2 separate regions of the Homo sapiens genome follow, and region 2 is linked to region 1. The links are contacts of gene promoters, found by promoter capture Hi-C in human tissues and cell types (Jung and others, 2019). All regions are on one chromosome and are shown on one strand. Each heading gives the region's core, a stretch centred on a gene start or on the middle of the fragment in contact. The rest is flanking DNA. Distances are from core to core; before and after follow the strand shown.

Region 1 (4,726 bases), core at 1,606-4,105:
GGGAGGCAGATCACTTAAGCTCAAGAGTTTGAGACCAGTCTGGGTAACACGGCGAAACCTCCTCTCTACAAAAAAAATTAGCAGGGTGTGGTGGCTCCCTCCTGTGGACCCAGCTACTTGTGAAGCTGAGGCAGGAGGATCGCTTGAGCCTGGGAGGCAGAGGCTGCAGTGAGCCGAGAGCAACCCACTGCACTCTAGCCTGGGCAACACAGTGAGACCCTGTCTCAAACAAACAAACACAGACGCACAACACACCCCCCACAGATATTGTTTGAAAAATATGTGCAATAAACTCTTATTTTAAGACCTTTTTAAAAAATGCTCTCCAAATTGCAAACCTAGAAAATTTAAGGGATCAAAATAAACTAGACTTGAAATCAAAATTCAAACTGGCAAAAAACACTTAGGCTAAAAAGTATTACAAATTTCCCCTCTTAGGGATACAACTAGACTATGTCAATGTGTTTGTAACAATGGCCAAAGTTAGAATTAAGGAAAAAAAATCCCACAACTCAAAAATAAATAATAGTGAAACCAATTTCTGGATGCCTTCTTTCTAGGGCATCACATTACTTCACTGGGAACCTTCAAAGGCAACGAATGGCACTTGCTTACCTGAGGTGTTAAATACACACCCCCCCCCCCCCGCCGCCCTCCTCCCGCCCCCCTCCCCCCGCCCCGCCCCATCAGCTTCCCTGTCCTATTTCTAGTTTTGACAGAAAGCGGAGTCCCTTCACAAACAAGGTTAGCTCTGTAACAAAGCGAGCAAAGAAAACAGCGCAATTGGCATGGCAACTTCCAACAACTTCGAAGAGAAAGCACAACTCTCCAACTTTGTCGTGCTCTCATTGACACATTCCCCACTCACATGGAAAATGCTGTTTTAAAAACTTCCCCTTTTCAATGAACTGTCATGCTATAAAATATTACCTGTTCCTATTTGGAATTTAAAGAGGAGCTATAAAATATTCCCTGCTCCCATTTGCAATTATGTGAACATAATTCTCACCATAAGTTTCACCGAGATGGTAGTTATGTCACCTGCAAAGCCCTTGAAGCTGCAAAGGCCAACTCTGCACACAGGAAGCCATGACGGGCACCCAAAGTCCGGCCAAATGGAAAGCAGCAGGCACCCCGGGAGTGTGAGGAAGGGCCTTCTTTCCATCTCATGCAGCCAAATCCTCCTCCCCCTACCTGGGGCCCTCAACTCTCTACCTCACGTCCTCAACCATCCTCCTGCGACCTCACGCCCCCAAACCCTCCTCCCCCCACTGCACGCCATCAACTCTCCTCTGTCCACCTCACACCCTCAACCCTCCTACCCCCACACCTCATGCCCCTAAACCCTCTTCCCCACACCTCATGCCCCCAAACCCTCCTCCCTCCACCTCACGCCCCAACCCTCCCTCGTCCCACTACCTCTCACCCTCAAACCTCTTCCCCCTACCTCACGCCCTCAACCCTCCTCCCACATCATGCTCTCAAGCCCTTCCCACCAACTCACGCCCTCAACCCTTCTCCCCAACCCTCCTCCCACACCTCATGCCCCCAAATCCTCCTCAGCCCCTAAATCCTCCTCCATCCACCTCACACCCTCAACCCTCTTACCGCCACCTCACGCTCCCAAACCATCCCCACCAACTCATGCCCTCAATCCTCCCCTGCACTTCATACTCCCAAACCCTCCCCACCAACTCACGCCCTCAACCCTCGTCCCTGCACTTCAAGCTCTTAACTCTCCCCTGCACCTCATGCTCCCAAACCGTCCCCCCACCTCACGCCCTCAACCCTCCTCCCCCCACCTCGCGGTCCAAAACCCTCCTTCCCCTCACCTCACACCCTCAACCCTCCCCCACACCTCATGCTCCCAAATCCTCCTCCCACCTCACGTCCTCAACCCTCCTCCTACACCTCACACCTTCAACTCTCCCCCACACCTCATGCTCCCAAACCCTCCCCCCACCTCACGCCCTCAACCCTCCTCCAAACGCCTCACACCCCCAAATCCTCCTTCGTCCATCTCACACCCTCAACCCTCCCCCCTCCACCTTACTCCCCCAAACCCTCCTCCTCCCACCCCACGCTCCCAAACCCTCCCCCCACCTCACAGCCTCAACCCTCCTCCCCCCACCTCACGCTTTCAAACCCTTCCCCCACCTCACGCCCTCAACCCTTCCCCTCACCTCACGCCCTCAACCCTTCCCCTCACCTCACGCCCTCAACCCTTCCCCTCACCTCACACCCTCAACCCTTCCCCTCACCTCACGCCCTCAACCCTCCTCCCTCCCACCTCATGCTCCCAAACCCTTCCCTCACCTCACGCCCTCAACCTCTTCTCCCCACCTCATGCCCTCAATTCTCCTCCCCCCACCTCCCGGCCTCAACTCTTCTCCCCCCACTCCCAGCCTTAACTCTCCTCCCCACACCTCACGCCCCCAAACTTCCCTCCGCCTACCTCACGCGTCCAAACCCTCCTCTCTCCACCTCATGCGCCCAAATCCGTCTCTTCCCTGTCTCACACACCCCTAAATCCTCCTCTCTCTTCCCTCCCAGGCCTCCAAATCCTCGTCTCCTTCAAACCGCCTCCAGAGTTACTCCGAATTCTCTCTCGCCCTCTAAAACTCGCTCTTTTCCCTTAAAATAGCTCCCCTCGATACCTTAATTCCCGCGCGACCCCGGACTCCTGGCTCCCGTAACTCACGAGAAGAAGGGGTCATCCTCAAAACTGCTGTTCAGCATCCTGAACATTCTGGCTCTGTCTTGGGTGGCGGCAGCCGCGGACAGATTGGAAAAACGATGTTAACTCGCCGCGGCCGCGACAAGAGCTAGCCTCCAGTACGGACGACGCCTCACTCGCCGCGGCGCAGGCGGTGCCCGCCGGGATAGGAGGTGCGTGACACCGAGCTGCTTTCCCATTGGACATTGCTCTGTGACGTCACCAGGACGAGGCGGGGAGCAATGCGCCGCTGCCCTGGCAACCGCAATCAACACAGTGGAGGCGAGAAGTCTGGCCTTGCGCCGGCCGGGGAGCTTTTCGCCAAGGCTCCTGTGGGATGGGATAGCTTGTTCTCTGGGCTGCAGGAACCAAAACATTAGACCACCCTTTCTGTGACCTTGGGCATGCCGCCCTCGGTTCCGAGCCGCAAGTCTTTCTTTCGGGGAAAATGAAAAGGGGTCAAGATTTGGACCAGATGACACCCAATGTCCCATTCAACGGTCGCATTCTGTCATCCACAGGAATTAGTCCTGTATCCGAAACATTCTCTGGTAGTCAAAAGCTGTGAGCAAATAATAAGAAAAAATGTGCAAAACGTTTTTTAGTACAGTTAGCAAATAGTGTACTCAGTTGTTGAAGGAAATGGGATGAAGCCTATCAGATTTCAACAAACTTATTTACCTCTTGAGAAAGCTGCTCTCTTTTCGGTTGTCCTTCTGTGTCTCTCTTTCAAAGATCAAGTCTCACTGCGATGCTGATATGTTTTTAACACTTCTCCAGCATTTCTTAACCTAACAGCAGGTTTCAGGCACAGGCCTGCAGCAAGCAGCCATATCCAACTAAAATTCCACTACTATATGTTTTTATTTGCATTACATTTATCAGGGAGCTTTCTATTTATGGCAAGGAAACTGATTTTAAATTTAAATCAGTGATATACATCAAGAGCTAGATTTTGCATTTTTAAGTGAAAAAGTAAGCTATCAAATAGAACAGGTGGAATTTGGATATGGTGGGGCGGAGGGGTAGGCAGAGCAGGGGAGAGGAACATCGTGATAGTGGTACTCAAATTACTAAGTTTTAGAAAACACTATCACGGGGCCTTTCAGGAGCCTGGAGACAGATGGAGGGGAAGACAGAAGAGAGATTAAGGAGAAGAATGGTAAGAGTATAAGAAAAGAGAAAATACATCTTGCATGTCCACCCTTAATTCAGTGAGCTCCCCAGCTTCTCTACGTGGCTGTCTTGCAGAGATAAAGGGGCGTCCATAGCTCATCAGGGCCCCCTGGGATCAGGCCAGAGGGGTGGCACTTTGCCAGCATGAAGAAGTGTGCAAGCCCTGATTTGGAGGTGACAGGAGTAGTCAGGGGTTATTTTGAGAGCTGGAAATTTAATCGTTTGGATCTTTTACTCCCCATCCCCCTTTTTTAGCCAAGTTCTCTGGCAGCTTCCTTCCCCTGAGACTGGTGGCATGGGGTAGGGCAGACTTCACAGCCCAAGATGAGATGGCACAGCCCATCCAGGAAAGAGGATATTTTCTTTTCCTCTGGACTCAGAATAAAGCTCAGAGAACATATACACAAAATTTCGAAAATTTCTAAATAAATTTCAAGGCAAACAAAATTGTTTTATAAGACCTTAAATTGTTTTTCTCTTTAAAATAGTATAAGCACAAGATGTGAAGGAGGCCACACTTAAAAAAAAACTTGAAATGGAGTAAGTTATGTGATAAAAGATGGTGTTAAAATAGTTCTGGATTAAGGCCAAGTAAATTTGTAATGTTACCCTCTAGTTTCTGTGGGAACTTTTTTAGAATCACATTGTTATAAAAGCTTTAGTCCAGGCACAGGTTAGTCAGGGAATTAGCTGAACCTTGTGAAAGCAGTTTGGATCTAATGACAAATGCAAAAAAAAAAAAAAAGGAGGGCAGAGCAGAGTTGGCACTGAAGAGACCTTGACATCATTTTCAGAACTGATGGGTAAGAGGTGGAAATGAAAGAAAGCGTGGGT
Region 2 (4,726 bases), core at 1,476-3,975, 57 kb before region 1:
AAACCAAGCTGTGCCCTGACCACCTTGGGAACATGTTCTCAGGACCTCCTGAGGGCTGTGTCATGGGCCATGGTCACTCATATTTGGCTGAGAATAAATCTCTCCAAATATTTTACAGAGTTTGAGTCTTTTCTTCGACACTATCAATCGAGGAAAATGACTAGTCTCAGTCATTTTAGGAGACTTATTTGCCAAAGTTAACAACGCACCCGAGAGACAGATATATGCCTTTCTTCAAAGATGATTTTGAGGGTTTCAAATTTAAAGGGGAAAGGCCAGGATATTGAGAAACACTCAGTTTTTACATAAACAAAAGGGGGAGAGGAAAAATGTGGGGAATCTGCATTTTACCTAAGATAACACAGCCAAAATGGGGTAGGGGGACAATCACATACACATTTGTGTCTGGCGGGCCAGGTTGACTGCACCTGTAAAGATAAGCTATCAACTTGCATTGCATGGAGAAATTTTAACAGCTCACTAGGAATTTCCTTGTGGGAAAAATATGGGGGAGGCACGTAGCTTTTCATCTAGTAGCCATCTTATTTAGGAACCAAAAGGGGAGGCAGGTTTGCATGACCCAGTTCCCAGCTTGACTTTTCTCTTTGGCTAAATGAGTTTGGGGTCGCAAAATTTAATTTCCTTTCACAAACCTACACCAATGGTTTGCCAGGGCTCTTGGGCCTTTGACCACAGACTGAAGGCTGCACTGTTGGCTTCCCTACTTTTGAGGTTTTGGGACTCGGACTGGCTTCCTTGCTCCTCAGCATGCAGATGGCCTATTGTGGGACTTTACCTTGTGATTTTGTGAGTCAATACTCCTTAATAAACTCCTTTTCATATTTACATCTATCCTATTAGTCCTGTCCCTCTAGAGAACCCTGGCTAATACACCCTCCTTGCTGATCCTCATGTGTCTAGAGCCTTTGCTCTTCCCCAGATATCAGCATGGTTTTTTCCCTCACTTTTTTTTTTTTTTTTTTTGGAGGTGGAGTCTACGCTGTCACCCAGGCTGGAGTGCAATGGCATGATCTCAGCTCACTGCAACCTCTGCCTCCTGGGTTCAAGTAATTCTTCTGCCTCAGCCTCCTGAGTAGCTGGGATTACAGGTGCCTGCCACCACTCCCAGCTAATTTTTGTATTTTTAGTATAGACAGGGTTTCACCATGTTGGCCAGGCTGGTCTTGAACTCCTGACCTCATGATGCACCTGCCTTGGCCTTCCAAAGTGCTGGGATTACAGGAGTGAGCCACCACACCTGGCCTCCCTCCCTCCCTTTCTATCTTCTCACTGTGATTCATTTTTCTTCAGAGCACTTCTTAAATTCAGACATTTTGCATACATATCTTTGTATTGTCTGACTCTCCATGTGAGAATATAAGTTTCATAAGGACAACAGTTTTGTTTGCTCATTACTGTGTCTCCGTACATGTTTGAGGTGTTTAATAAATATTTGTTAAATGAATGAATGAATGAGATCAAGTAAATTGAAAAAAGTACAAGGGACAAGAAAAGGAAAATGAGAGGCTCAATGATGAATTTCAAAGTTACTTTTTGTATATCATCCCATGTAGTAATATGCAATAAAGGATTTCTAAGTCACTTTAATGAATGAATCCATTAACATTAAAAATACGGTATTAGTTTGTTTTCATGCTGCTAATAAAGACATACTCGAGACTGGGTAGTTTAGAAAGGAAAGAATTTTAATTGACTCACAGTTCCACATGGCTGGGGAAGCCTCACAATCATGGTGGAAGATGAAGGAAGAGCAAAGGGACGTCTTACATGGCAGCTAGCAAAAAGATAGTTTGTGCAGGGGAACTCCTCTTTATAAAATCATCAGATCTGGTGAGACTTATTGACTATCATGAGAACACCATGGGAAAGACCCACCCCCATGATTCAATTACCTCCCACTAGGTCCTTCCCACAACACATGGGAATTAAGGGAGCTACAATTCAAGAAGAGATTTGGGTGGGGACACAGCCAAACCATATCAAATACTTTAAATAAACTTTTTTATTTAGACTTCTAAAAATTTAGTCTTTATATACCTTTATAAGTATTATTTTAAAATACATGATTATGTAAATACACAATAAAGGTTTTTAATTTTTAATTTTATATTTTATTTAGTATGCAGATAACTAATCTTATATTAAATAAGATTGTATATCTACTATATTGAAATTACCACTTTAATGAACTGTTTCCTTAGTAAAGATTTATATTCATTATTATGTGTATATATATTCATTTTTTCCATGATTATTGTACCAAGTATATTTTTATTGTTATTAATCACCACTTTTAATCAAAGTAGTCCACTTTTGCTTTCTGCAAAGAGAAAAATAGAACACAGAAATCTATGAAATGTCTAGCTAAATTTTTATGAGTACACATTTTTGTGAAAGGAAAACAAATCTTGAGGACCCAAAATCACTTAGCTAATGGGAAGAGTCAAGTTAGGAACTACTTAGGGCAAAGCCTACCTCCCCTTCTACTCAAAGTCATCCCTCTGCTCACTGAGATAAGTGCATATCTGATTGCCTCATTTGGAGAGGCTAATCGAAAACTCAAAAGAATACAACCATTTGTCTCTTATCAACCTATGACCTAGAAGCCCCCTCCCTGCTTTGAGCTGTCCTGCTTTTGCTTTGAGTTGTCCCACCTTTCCAGACAGAACCAATGTTCATCTTGCGTATGTTGACTGATGTCTTATGTCTCCGAGCGTATAAAACCAAGCCGTGCTCTGAGCACCTTGGGCACATGTTGTTAGGACCTCCTGAGGCTGTGTCACAGGCATATGTCCTCAACCTTGGCAAAACAAACCTTGTAAATTAACTGAGACCTGTCTCAGATATTCGGGGTTCACATTTTGGTATCCATGAAGGGAATCTGAGCAGAGGTACCCTGATCTGTAAGATACAATAAATCTTTCTGAGTTCTCTTCAAAGTGTTTAGCCTGTTAACTTCCTTACTCAGGCAAGACGTGTCCCACTGCCCCACTGCGGTGGCCTCAGGGAGGTGAGATTGAGACCCACCCTTGGTGACGAATAAACCCACACTCTCAGCAACGTGGGGAGGAGAGGCTTGCAATACCGTGGCGACCAGGTAAACTCTGTGCACAGACCAAGGTACGAAACGTCACAGGGGCGACAAAGTACTTCTTTGGTGGTCAGAGGGGGTGGTCGGGGCATTCTGGAGGTTGAAAGTGCATGAATGGTAACAAGCACTACTGCTGTGAGGAATGAGTGAGTCCAATCTACGATTCCGTGGTCACCACATATGGCTTAGGGCGGCCCTTTGGGGGTCCCATCAGGGATTTATACTGACCCGCCATCAATGGTAAGAGGGACCTGAAACATTCCCGAGAGGGAAGTGGCCAGAGCAGACGAAGCAAAAGAAGGGTTCAAGGGACCTCCAGCAGATGGAGATAAGCGAATTAAGCCTTAGCAAAGCTTCCACTGAAGGATAGGCAAGAGATCGCTAATATGAGGGGTTGAGCCACAAGGAACTCCCCAAATTGGCAAGAGATTCCTAATAAGAGGGATTGAGCCTAGCCAGGACCCAGTATGGGAAATATTACAAGCAAAAAAGATGAAGTTAGCAACAAAGATATCCCCTTGATAGTCCCTTAGGTCTCAAAGATATACCACCTGATAACCCTCTAGGTCTCATGCTAAAAGGCTGGGAAGATAATGAAAGAACTAAACATAAATAAAAGCAACAAATGATAAAATATTGCTGTTCTATTTGGACTCAAAGACCTAACCTCAATCCCTCAATCTTCTGGCCAAAGTTTGGGTCGACTGAGGATATACTATGTCAACTTTTAATTCAACATGTAAATAATAAAAGCCCAGTTTCTCAAGAAAAACTGGTCTATGCTCTTTGTTGGAAGCAAAGACCTGTCCTCCCTTTTCCCTTATGCCCCTGCCCCTACTGTAGAACCAGTGAGGGAAGGGGCTCAGGGAATCCTGGCAAACGAGAACAGCACACGGGATCCCCTAGGCCATCCTCCACCTAATACCCCTGGTCCCCCACCTAATACACCCAACCCTTCCCTCAGGCCCAGCCTAAGTCCCCCTCCCCAAAAGAACTCCAAGCTCGTAATTCGCCGGTGGCTTTTGCCGGGCTAGCAACATCAAGGATCAGCTGCAACATGTTGTCGGCATCATCCAGCCCATAGTACGCCCCAGCGGCAGGCAAAGCCCATGCTCCTGCCCCCTGGCTGGTCCAAGGTCCCGGCACCACATTGACGGCAGCTCTGCAAGACACACAGTCCAGGTCCCAGCCTATGCCCTGAGCAGACTACATTATGGGACATCTGCCTTACTTTTGCCAGGGCCAAGTAATACCAGGCCTCAGCCATGGCTCCAAGCAGCTAGGCATCTCTGCAGCTAAGTCTCCTGAGTAGATAATCTTTCAGCTGATATATCCACTAGCATTTATTGTGGTCAAGTCAGTGTTAAAAGTGAAAATATCCACCAGAAAAGAACTTTGATCCTTTAAAGTTTTCTATTATATATTAAGTTTTATATTTTATATATTATATATATTAAGTTTTATATTAAGTTGTATATTATGTATTTATATTATATATTGTTTTATTTTATATATATTATATATTAATATTTATGTTTTATATTAAAATGTGCCACCAGAAAAGAATTATATGTGTATAAGTATGAGGCTATTCTGTTAAAAAGGATGGTTTAA

Evidence for each region. The method cuts DNA at HindIII sites, captures the fragments that hold promoters and counts their contacts. A contact is called where the count stands out against the background at its distance.
Region 2: a fragment that was not itself captured here is called in contact with the fragment with the promoter of MLF1 in region 1 in 1 of the 25 tissues and cell types used here (psoas muscle).

Annotation. Positions count from the first base shown.
Region 1 is chr3:158,569,323-158,574,048 of GRCh38, reverse strand. It overlaps MLF1 (myeloid leukemia factor 1), which reads right to left and starts at 2,855. Exons shown (of 8, transcript NM_001369783.1): 1 at 2,702-2,855. The coding sequence starts at 2,748. MLF1-DT (MLF1 divergent transcript) reads left to right here and starts at 2,983. Exons shown (of 5, transcript NR_104147.1): 1 at 2,983-3,878. The HindIII fragment of the contact is 8,231 bases long and covers 1-4,726 here.
Region 2 is chr3:158,626,428-158,631,153 of GRCh38, reverse strand. It overlaps the pseudogene RFKP6. Among named protein-coding and RNA genes, the nearest start is that of GFM1, 16 kb to the left of the region's middle. RefSeq lists enhancers at 3,711-4,210, 4,211-4,712. The HindIII fragment of the contact is 7,108 bases long and covers 1-4,726 here.